3 separate regions of the Homo sapiens genome follow, and all the other regions are linked to region 1. The links are contacts of gene promoters, found by promoter capture Hi-C in human tissues and cell types (Jung and others, 2019). All regions are on one chromosome and are shown on one strand. Each heading gives the region's core, a stretch centred on a gene start or on the middle of the fragment in contact. The rest is flanking DNA. Distances are from core to core; before and after follow the strand shown. Region 1 has its middle 3.9 kb from the start of CYP4F8. Region 2 holds the start of OR10H2 (olfactory receptor family 10 subfamily H member 2). Region 3 holds the start of CYP4F22 (cytochrome P450 family 4 subfamily F member 22).

The links. Contacts are between HindIII fragments. The study calls those that stand out against the background at their distance.
Region 2: the fragment with the promoter of OR10H2 here is called in contact with a fragment that was not itself captured in region 1 in 4 of the 25 tissues and cell types used here (adrenal gland, mesendoderm cells, small bowel and 1 more).
Region 3: a contact is called between the fragment with the promoter of CYP4F22 here and a fragment that was not itself captured in region 1, in 4 of the 25 tissues and cell types used here (H1 embryonic stem cells, dorsolateral prefrontal cortex, mesendoderm cells and 1 more).

Annotation. Positions count from the first base shown.
Region 1 is chr19:15,609,558-15,613,030 of GRCh38, forward strand. It overlaps the pseudogene RPL23AP2. Among named protein-coding and RNA genes, the nearest start is that of CYP4F8, 3.9 kb to the right of the region's middle. The HindIII fragment of the contact is 7,491 bases long and covers 1-3,473 here.
Region 2 is chr19:15,726,083-15,729,555 of GRCh38, forward strand. It overlaps OR10H2 (olfactory receptor family 10 subfamily H member 2), which reads left to right and starts at 1,942. Exons shown (of 1, transcript NM_013939.2): 1 at 1,942-2,970. The coding sequence starts at 1,962. The coding sequence ends at 2,909. The HindIII fragment of the contact is 21,841 bases long and covers 1-3,473 here.
Region 3 is chr19:15,506,922-15,510,394 of GRCh38, forward strand. It overlaps CYP4F22 (cytochrome P450 family 4 subfamily F member 22), which reads left to right and starts at 1,604. Exons shown (of 14, transcript NM_173483.4): 1 at 1,604-1,662. RefSeq lists an enhancer at 1,248-1,748. The HindIII fragment of the contact is 20,579 bases long and covers 1-3,473 here.

The DNA.
Region 1 (3,473 bases), core at 486-2,985:
AAACACTGGCTGATGTACAGTCAGTCTTAACAGGACCCATTTCCCATCCTGGTTGTTTTGAGTGAGACAAGCTATGTTGTGGAGCAAGAGTGCCCTAATGTGATCAAAAAATGATAAAACGAAGGAAAGTTTGTCTCTCCCCAACCCCCTAGAGAAACCATTCACAAAGATCCTATTTTACCCTGCCCTAGAATTCAACAAAAACCCTTACCTTAAATTTGTAGCAGTAGCTCTTATTCTGAGAACATCACTGCACCTCCTAGCCAAGGGGGAAAGCAGCTTCAATAAGGCAGAACTTTGCCTAAAACAGGAAGTTCGTTGATTTCAGGAGAAACTTATCTGTTGCATCCAGCAGGGGCATCCCAGTTGGGGGAACACGATGGATTCCGTGCATGAAGGTTGAAACCTGCTCAGGAAGGTCCAGGGTGACCAGGGAGGCCACTCTGAAACACTGATGACTACATCATTTTGTGGAGTGAAATTAAAGCTGCCGAGGCAGAAATACTTTGATAAGGGTTTATTTGAAGCCAAAGGTGAGGATCAACCCAGAAAGATGCACCAACACATTTGGATGTGTGCCAGAATCTTTTACAATTTGGAATGTTTTTATAAGAAAGTTTAGGAGAAGAGAAGGGAACTTCTTATATCAGAATTGTCTGTTTTTATTGGAGGGTATAATACAGAGGTCATAATGATTAGATACAGGTTATAACATACAGGCTAAAACATTTTGTATGTAAAACCATCAGTGAAACTTTATAAGAGAGGGCACAGTGGCTTATGCCTGTAATCCCAGCACTTTGGGAGGTTGAGACGGGCAGATCCCTTGAGGAGAAGCTCATCGCTCCTGAGGCCAGTAGTTCGAGACCAGCCTAGCCAATATGGTGAAACTCTGCTCTACTAAAAATACAAAAATTAGCTGGGCATGGTGGCACATGCCTGCAATCCCAACAACTCGAGAGGCTGAGGCAGGAAGGTTGCTTGAACCTAGGAGATGGAGGTTGCAGTAAGATGAGACTGCGCCACTGCACTCCAGCCTGGGTGACAAAGACCCTGTCTCAAAAAAAAAAAGAAAAGAAAAGAAAAACTTTATGATTTATAAATATAAAGCAAAACTTCATGGTTTAGAAACAAAGGATTGTGCTTTTCCATATCAGTGGAAAATCAGAACATCAACAGTTGGAAGAACTCATAAGATCTGAGTAATTAAAGATAAGATTTGAGGAACTCACAAGATTCTTTACTCAGGAACAGGATGTAACCCATGCATCAAGAGATCTTTTCCGGGGGCTAATTGGGACTAATGTGACTGGTAGGTTATCAGCAGAGACCACGTCTGTCTTGTTCAACCTGTGTCCCAGGTCCTAGCACCATGCCTGCTACCATTTAAGTGTTCATGTGAAGTTTGTTGTTGAGAAACTAATTACCTAAAAGTTAGAACTTGACCTTTGCATTTTATCGAGGAGGCTATGAGACTCAGAGGGTTACACAGCTAGTGAGTGGCAGAGCCTGGACTTGAACTCAGTTGTGCTGAAGCCAGAATGTGTTCCTTCCTGAGCATTCAAGGACAGGGAAGGTGAAACTCCAGCTAGTGGGCAGCCCGTGTGCTTGTTCTAGGGAGACTGCAGGCCGATTCCTGGGAGCTGGGTCTTCATGGTGACACAGTAAGAACAACTCACCTATTGGCTGGGCGCAGTGGCTCACGCCTGTAATCCCAGCACTTTGGGAGGCCGAGGTGGTTGGATCACTTGAGGTCAGGAGTTGGAGACCAGCCTGGCCAATATGGTGAAACCCTGTCTCTACTAAAAATACAAAAATTAGCTGGGTGTGGTGGCTCATGCCTGTAATCTCAGCTGCTCGGGAGGCTGAGGTAGGATAATCGCTTGAACCTGGTGGGGCGGAGGTTTCAGTGAGCCGAGATTGGCACCATTGCCCTCCAGCCTGGGTGACAAAGTGAGACTCTGTCTCAAAAAACAAAGCAAAGCAAAACAAAACAAAACGAAACAGAACTACTCACCTATGTTGTGGATCAACTGTGTCCCCACTGTACCAAATCCTTATTTATTTAAAAAAATTTGTTTTGGACCCTTTTCACAAGATGGTGCCGAAAGTGAAGAAGGAAGCTCCTGCCCCTCCTAAAGCCGAAGCCAAAGCGAAGGCTTTAAAGGCCAAGAAGGCAGTGTTGAAAGGTGTCCACAGCCACAAAAAGAAGATCCACACGTCACCCACCTTCCGGCGGCCGAAGACACTGCGACTCCGGAGACAGCCCAAATATCCTCGGAAGAGCGCTCCCAGGAGAAACAAGCTTGACCACTATGCTATCATCAAGTTTCCGCTGACCACTGAGTCTGCCATGAAGAAGATAGAAGACAACAACACACTTGTGTTCATTGTGGATGTTAAAGCCAACAAGCACCAGATCAAACAGGCTGTGAAGAAGCTCTATGACATTGATGTGGCCAAGGTCAACACCCTGATTCGGCCTGATGGAGAGAAGAAGGTATATGTTCGACTGACTCCTGATTACGATGCTTTGGATGTTGCCAACAAAATTGGGATTATCTAAACTGAGTGCAGCTGCCTAATTCTGAATATATATATATATATCTTTTCACCATATACATGCCTCTCTGTCAATTTCTGGTTGGGCTGGGAGGCCACACACAGACACTGACATGACAGGGCTTGGGCAAGACTCCTGTTCTACTTATCCTTTTGAAATATTCACCCTGCCACTCCACCATGTGTGATCACTCCAGAGATCTTTGTGACTAGAGTTAGTGTCCTAGGAAAACCAGAACTCAGAACTTGCCTCCATGGTTGAGGGTAACAAGAAGCTGTACAAGAACCCCTTTTATCCCTGGAAGAGGCTGTGTATGAAACCAATGCCCAGGGTTTGAAGGGCGTTAGCATCCATTTCAGGGGAGTGTGGATTGGCTGGCTTTCTGGTAGCATTTTGTCCTCACACACCCATCTACTGTGTCCAACCGGTCTGTCTGCTTCCCTCACCCCTTGCCCAATAAAGGACAAGGACTTCAGAGGAAAAAAAAAATTGTTTTAATTATTACATTTATAGCATCCCAGCTTGAAAAACGAAGCAACAGAGACGTGTAGAAAGTTAAAAGGTTTCTACTCCAATTGTAATTTCTCCAATTCCATCGTGGTATGTGCATTCTTCTGGATTTTTTTCAGTGTGCATACACATGTGTACATACAGACACATACACATACACTCGTACGTTTTTTATATTGATGGGACCATTACTCACATCTTTAATTTGGAACTTATTCTCTGCTCTCTCTCCCTGTGTCTGATAGAATGCTGGCAATGCTTTGTGATGCTTTAGGAGACACATTTGTCAGATGTGAAGACTTAGGCTTAGGAATTGATGGGTGGTGACTGAGGCTGGTCACTCTGTGGTCTGGTGCACTTTCCCACTGCCCCACTCTGGGTAGGGGTGGAAGGGCCCCTG
Region 2 (3,473 bases), core at 692-3,191, 120 kb after region 1:
TGTATCACTGATTCAATCTTTGCGTGGTTGCATAATATTTCATTGTGTGGTCGGACCACATTTTGTTTATCCATTCATTCATTGATCCAGTTTGCATTGTAACATAAACTTTTGTATTTTGCATCTAGCCTGTTTGCAGACTGGCAAGAAAGAGAGTGGGAGAGGAGTCACAGCCTCCTAGTTTAGTTTGTTGGGGAACTTCCATAAACTAAATAAAGTAGAAGGGCTCCTATTGGTGCAGGGAGGAGAGCTGCCCTGGCAGAGAAATTGGGCAGATCTGACTCTGTGGCCACTCAGGGAAGGTGATGAGAGAAGCCATGGCTGATAGCCTAGGTTTTTGCTGTTAGGTTTGGGATTGGAGGATTGGGGTTGGGGTCAAAAAGAGGAGGAGACCAGCAGAGTCACGTAGTGGAAGCATGCTGGGCCCATAGCCTAGAGGTCAGTGGACCATAACCATTTTCTGCTAAGAAGTTTTTGACTGGGCATGGTGGCTCACACCTATAAATCCCAGCACTTTGGGAAGCTGAGGCAGGCTGATCACTTGAACTCAGAAGTTCAAGACCAGCCCGAGCAACATGGTTAAACCCCATCTCTACTAAAAATACAAAAATTAGCCAGGTGTGGTGATGCGGGCCTGTAATCCCAGCTACTCAGGAGGCGGAGGCAGGAGAATTGCTTGAACCCAGGAGGCGGAGGTTGCAGTGAGCCGAGATCATGCCACTGCATTCCAGCAGGGACAGAGTGAGACTCTGTCTCAAAGAAAAAAAAAAAAAAAAGCGGAATTGTGATAGAGAAAGAGTAATTCACACAGAGCTGGCTCTGCAGGGGACTGGAGTTTTATTATTACTCAAATCAGTCTCCCTGAGCACTTGGGGAGCAGAGTTTTTAAGGACAACTTGGTGGGTGGAGGGGAAGCCAGTGAGCCAGCAGTGCTGATTGGTCAGAGATGAAATCAAAGCTGTCTTCTTGCGGAGAGTCAGTTCCTGGGTGGGGGCCACAAGATCAGTTGAGCCAGTTTATCGACCTGGGTGGTGCCAGCTGATCCATCAAGTGCAGGATCTGCAAAATATCTCAAGCACTGATCTTGGGAGCAATTTAGGGAGGGTCAGAATCTTGTAGCCTCCAGCTGCATGACTCCTAAACCATAATTTCTAATCTTGTGGCTAATGTTAGTTCTACAAAGGCAATCTAATCCCCAGACAAGAAGGAGGTCTGCTTTGGGAAAGGGCTGTTATCGTCCTTGTTCCAAACTATAAACTATAAACTATAAACTAAATTTCCCCCAAAGTTAGTTCACCCTATGTCCTGGAATGAACAAGGACAGCTTGGAGGTTAGAAGCAAGATGGAGTTGGTTAAGTTAGATCTCTTTCGCTGTCTCAGTCATAATTTTGCAAAGGTGGTTTCAATTTTCCAGGGGAGCAATGAGGCTCAGAGAGGGGAAGCAACCTGCCCTGCATCTCACAGCTAGAAAGCAGTGGTGCCGAGAATTAAACAGAGTCTGGACGTTTCCATGACATAGGGAAGAGATGACTTCCAGCTGAAGGTGGCAATCAGGGAGCAGCTTGCTCATAAAATTCAGGTAGGATTTGGACCCATAAAGATAGGGAAAAGCATGAAAAGACCAGCATGAACAAAGGCAGAAAAGCAAGGTGTAGGTGGTGGTGCATGGATCTAATAATCGTGATGGCAATAACAATAGCAGAATAATTATTACTATCAACATTTATAATTTATTAAATTCTTACTTTGTGTCAGGACCTGCACAAAGCACTTAAGGTGAGTGATCTTATTTAAACCTCAATACATTATTATTAATGCCTTTCTGCAGATGGAGTAACCATGGCTTGGACAGATGAAGGAGGCGCTCTCAGATGTCCTCCCAGGCAGGAATCACTAGACACCCCCATGCTCCTAACCACTGGGTCTTCTTTCCTCTCTTCCCCAACTAGGGGTGGCCGTCATGCTGGGGCTAAACCACACCTCCATGTCTGAATTCATCCTCGTCGGCTTCTCTGCCTTCCCCCACCTCCAACTGATGCTCTTCCTGCTGTTCCTGCTGATGTACCTGTTCACGCTGCTGGGCAACCTGCTCATCATGGCCACCGTCTGGAGCGAGCGCAGCCTCCACACGCCCATGTACCTCTTCCTGTGCGTCCTCTCAGTCTCCGAGATCCTCTACACCGTGGCCATCATCCCGCGCATGCTGGCCGACCTGCTGTCCACCCAGCGCTCCATCGCCTTCCTGGCCTGTGCCAGTCAGATGTTCTTCTCCTTCAGCTTCGGCTTCACCCACTCCTTCCTGCTCACCGTCATGGGCTACGACCGCTACGTGGCCATCTGCCACCCCCTGCGCTACAACGTGCTCATGAGCCCACGGGGCTGCGCCTGCCTGGTGGGCTGCTCCTGGGCTGGTGGCTCGGTCATGGGGATGGTGGTGACCTCGGCCATTTTCCAACTGACTTTCTGTGGATCCCATGAGATCCAGCATTTTTTATGTCATGTGCCACCTCTGTTGAAGTTGGCCTGTGGAAATAATGTACCAGCTGTGGCCCTGGGCGTGGGCTTGGTATGTATCATGGCACTGCTGGGCTGTTTTCTCCTCATCCTCCTCTCCTATGCCTTCATCGTGGCCGACATCTTGAAGATCCCTTCTGCTGAAGGTCGGAACAAGGCCTTCTCCACCTGTGCCTCTCACCTTATTGTGGTCATTGTGCACTATGGCTTTGCCTCTGTCATCTACCTCAAGCCCAAAGGTCCCCACTCTCAGGAGGGTGACACCCTGATGGCCACCACCTACGCAGTCCTCACGCCCTTCCTCAGCCCCATCATCTTCAGCCTCAGGAACAAAGAACTGAAGGTTGCCATGAAGAGGACCTTCCTCAGCACACTCTATTCCTCAGGCACCTGAGTAGCTGGTGTGGAAGTGCTGATAGAATATGATAGGAGGATGACCATCACCTTGTCTGCACAGTGTGGCTAGTAATGCTTACCTTGTAAGGCAGGTGTAAAGATTTCTGTATATGACAACACTCATCACATAGTAGGTGCTCAGTAAATGTTAAAAGCATGTTTACTTCCACAACTCTTGATCTGTATGTCTTTATCTGAGTTTTAATTTTTGAGTTATAGTAGCTTTATTAAGATGTAATTCACCTACCATACAATGTACCCATTAGAGCGCACATTTCTGTGGTTTTTGCGTATTCAGAGTTATGCAACCATCATGACAATCTGGCTTAGAGTATTTTAGTCATCCAAAAAAGAAACCCAAATCCTAGTGCTTTGGAAGGCTGAGTGGGAGAATTGTTTGATGTCAGGAATTCACGATCGGTCTGGACAACATAGTGAGATGCCATCTACACACACACACAAACACATACACACACACAAGTTCTTTTTTTTTTAATTTATTACACTTTAAGTTTTAGGGTACATATGCACTACGTACAGGTTAGTTACATACATATACATG
Region 3 (3,473 bases), core at 354-2,853, 100 kb before region 1:
TCATATCCCTAAAAAATAGGCTTTCATGCTGCGTTAATTATGAATAAAAAATTAATAAAATAAGCTCTTCCTCAGAAGTAAAAAAGATTAAAGACACAAATAAATATAAATATTTTTTTTTAAAAGTTCTAGGAGCTGGGAGAATGGCTTGAGCCCAGGAGTTTGAGACCAGCCTGGGCAACATAGTGAGACCCTGTCTCTAAAAAAATGAAAAAAAAAAATTAGCTGGGTGTGGTGGCACGTGTCTGTAGTCCCAACTACCCAGGAGGCTGAGGCAGGAGGATGGCTTGAGCCCAGGAGTCACCCCAGCCTGGATGACAGAGTGAGACCAATCAACTAACAGGGGGCACCTCCCCTACTCAAGCACCATCCATGGCTCCCCACTGCCCACCAGATCAAGATCCAGCCATTCAAACTGGCCTTCACAGTCAACTCCTGCATCCCTCCAGCCTCCACACCTCTCACACTCCAAGGCCAGGGAAAGCCATCTGCTAAGTCACACCCTCCAGTTTCTCTGTGCTTGAGCTCTACCCCCTCTCCTGCACTTGTTGAAATCCAACCTCTCCATGCAGTCCCAGCTCAAGTGTCACATCCTCCACGTCGCCTTCCCTGACCTCATGTCTGCCTCCTCCAAGCAGCAAAACTTCAATTACTTGTGTCTCCTCTTCTTCACCAGGAGACATGCCCCACACCTCCCACGCCCTCTTTCCAAGGGCCCAGCACCAAATGAGAGCGTATTCTTAGAAAAAAGAGGGATAAGGAAGTCTTCTAAGTTTACCACCTGCTGGGGCAAGTGGAGATTCTTGTCTTCTCATCTGTCTGCCCACGTGCTAAGGTCAGCCACACATCCACCCACCGACTCCGGAGGACAGACACATCCAGAGGCGGAGCTGACTCTGTCTCCACACATCTGGAGTAGACGGGTTGGCCAAGGACAACATCCTGGTCAGAGGGTCAAGGTGTCTGGCAGTGGGTGGGGAGGAGTGGCGGAGGGCGGGTTGGCGGGGAGCAGAACCAGTCTGGTGCTGCTTGTTGAGGTTGGAGGTCTTCCTGGAGGAAGAGGCTGCAGAGCCTCCAGGGGTGGGTGCCGGGGAAGCTTAGGCCCAGGATCCAGAGAGAGGGGAAGGGCTGGTTCCCAAGGGCTGGTGGAGCCAGAGAATTCCTGAGGGCCCCAGAGGAGGCTTCTCGGGGGGGTCAGTGGGGCCCCAGGGGGTGATGGTTTAGAGATCGCTGTCCAAGCTTGGGAGCAAACCTGGAAGTAAGGGCCATGGGGGGTGTTGGTGTGGGAGGAGTGTGGTCCAGAGCGGGACTTGGGCGCTAATGCGGCCCAGCAGTGGCAGGAGGGCGGGGAGCCTGATGGTTTGGGACTTCTAGGTGTCCAAGTCTCTGTCTCTCTTCATCTCTCCATCTCAGTCTCAGTCTCTCTCTCTTTCCATCGCTCTCCACCCCTCCACACGCCTATTTCTTGTTCTCTCCTTTTCTAGGGGGCAGCGCTGGAGTCCCCGCCCAGAACCCTGCGGGAGCCCGGGGCGGGATGTCCGGGGGCGGACCCCTCGGCACGGCCGGGCGGGGTTAAAGGGTTGGGCCGTGGGACGGCGCGGTCAGATCCCAGGTAGTGGCGCCGGTGGATCCGGATCGAGGGCAGGAGGCTGAGACCCGCGGGTGAGTGCGCGCGTGGTGAGGGCTGTAACCTGAGCGCGGCCGCGGCGCTGCGCTGGAACCCGAGGCTCGCGCGGTTCGGTGCTGGCGGGGCAAGGGCGAAGGTCTGCGCGCGGCGGCGGGCGGGGCGCAGCCGGCCACGGGGACCCCCCCAGGACCCAGGACGGGGCTGCATGCCCGGGGCACTCGTGGGGAGAGGGGCACGTGGGTGTGTCCCCGACGTTTGCTGCATTTGTGAGTTGTTTTCTTTTTTTTTTTTTCTGTGTGCGCCTCGGAGTCCTAGGCGCATCCTTTTCTCTGGGTATCTGTGATGGGCAGGGGGCCTCCAAAAGACCCCTCTGGTAGTCAGGACATCCCAGATGGGTTCAAGCCCCGCCCTGGGACGCCTCTTTGGGGCTGAATGGGGATTCGCCCTGAGATTTCACCACTGCACGTTGTCTTGACGGGGAGGTTGTAGTACATTCAACCGATGGGGTTAGGCTTGTGGTTCAACTGCTATCAGGAACCCTCTGCCCATCCATGCCAGACGCAGAGCCCCTCTATGAAAAGACGGTGTTCTTCTGGCCCCGAGAGTTGGCTCTGAGGGTTGTGTGAGGTCCTGGGGTTGGTCCCAGGTGATCTTCGTCTGATAGATGCTGGAAGGAAGATGTTTTCTGGCCTCCCAGGGGCCTGGCCCAGCCTGGGTATGCAAGTTGGCCGAGGCTGGCCACCTGGGGAGTCGCAGGCTGGAGAGGCCTAGGCTCAGGGCATCTCTCCTGGTTCATCTGCCCGCTCACAGCTCATTCATGCACTCATTGTGAGTCTCACCGCCCTGTAGGCAAAGGAGATGGCCAGGGCTGGCTGCGTACCCGAAATTCCTCCTACCCTGTGCCCCTTGCTCCACCCCTTATTTCTAGGTCCTGGAGCTGTGCCCAGCCAGGGCTGGCAGCATCAAACTCCTTCTTGTGTAACTCCAAACCCCAAAGAGAAGGAACCTCCCCAAATCTTCCCTACCACCCTCATTTTACAGGCACGGAAACTGAGGGCCAGAGAGAAGAAGCCTGTGCCTGTGGATACCCAGTGCCCAGTGGGAGAGCTGGGATTTGAAAAAACAAGCCCTGTTTGACCCCAAAGCCTCAGTCCACTTTCCGATGTCCCCGGCATCACCAAATGGCCCAGCTTGGGTTTCTGAACAGTAACATTAACTCTGGCCTGGTGTCTGGCGGTGACCCAGGTTGGTATCTGCAGAGGGGCTTGGATGACTTGAGAGGCATTCAGGGAATGGGACCCATCTCTCCTTCCTTCCTTCCTTCCTTCCTTCCTTCCTTCCTTCCTTCCTTCCTTCCTTTCTTTCTTTCCTTCCTTCTTTCTTTCTTTCTTTCTTTCTTTTCTCTGTCTCTCTCTCTTTCTTTCTTTCTTTCTTTTTTTGTTGTTGTTGTTGAGACAGGGTCTCACTTTGTCACCCAGGCAGGAGTGCAGTGGCATAATCATAGCTCACTGCAGCCTCGATCTCCTGGGTTCAAGCAATCCTCCTACCTCAGCCTCCTGAGTATGGAGGACTACAGGCATGCACCACCACTCCTGTCTACTTTTTGTATTTTTGGTAGGGATGGGGTTTCACCATGTTGCCCAGGCTGGTCTTGAACTCTTGGGCTCAAGTGATCCACCCGCCTCAGCCTCCCAAAGTGCTGGGATTACAGGCATGAGCCACTGCGCCTGACTCATCTCTCCTTGTTGATAAAACTTGGACCTGATTCTCCAAACCCCAGATGGCCAGGTCACAATAATGAACGTGATGGCAGCACCAACGGTAATGAGAGATATCATTGATCAAA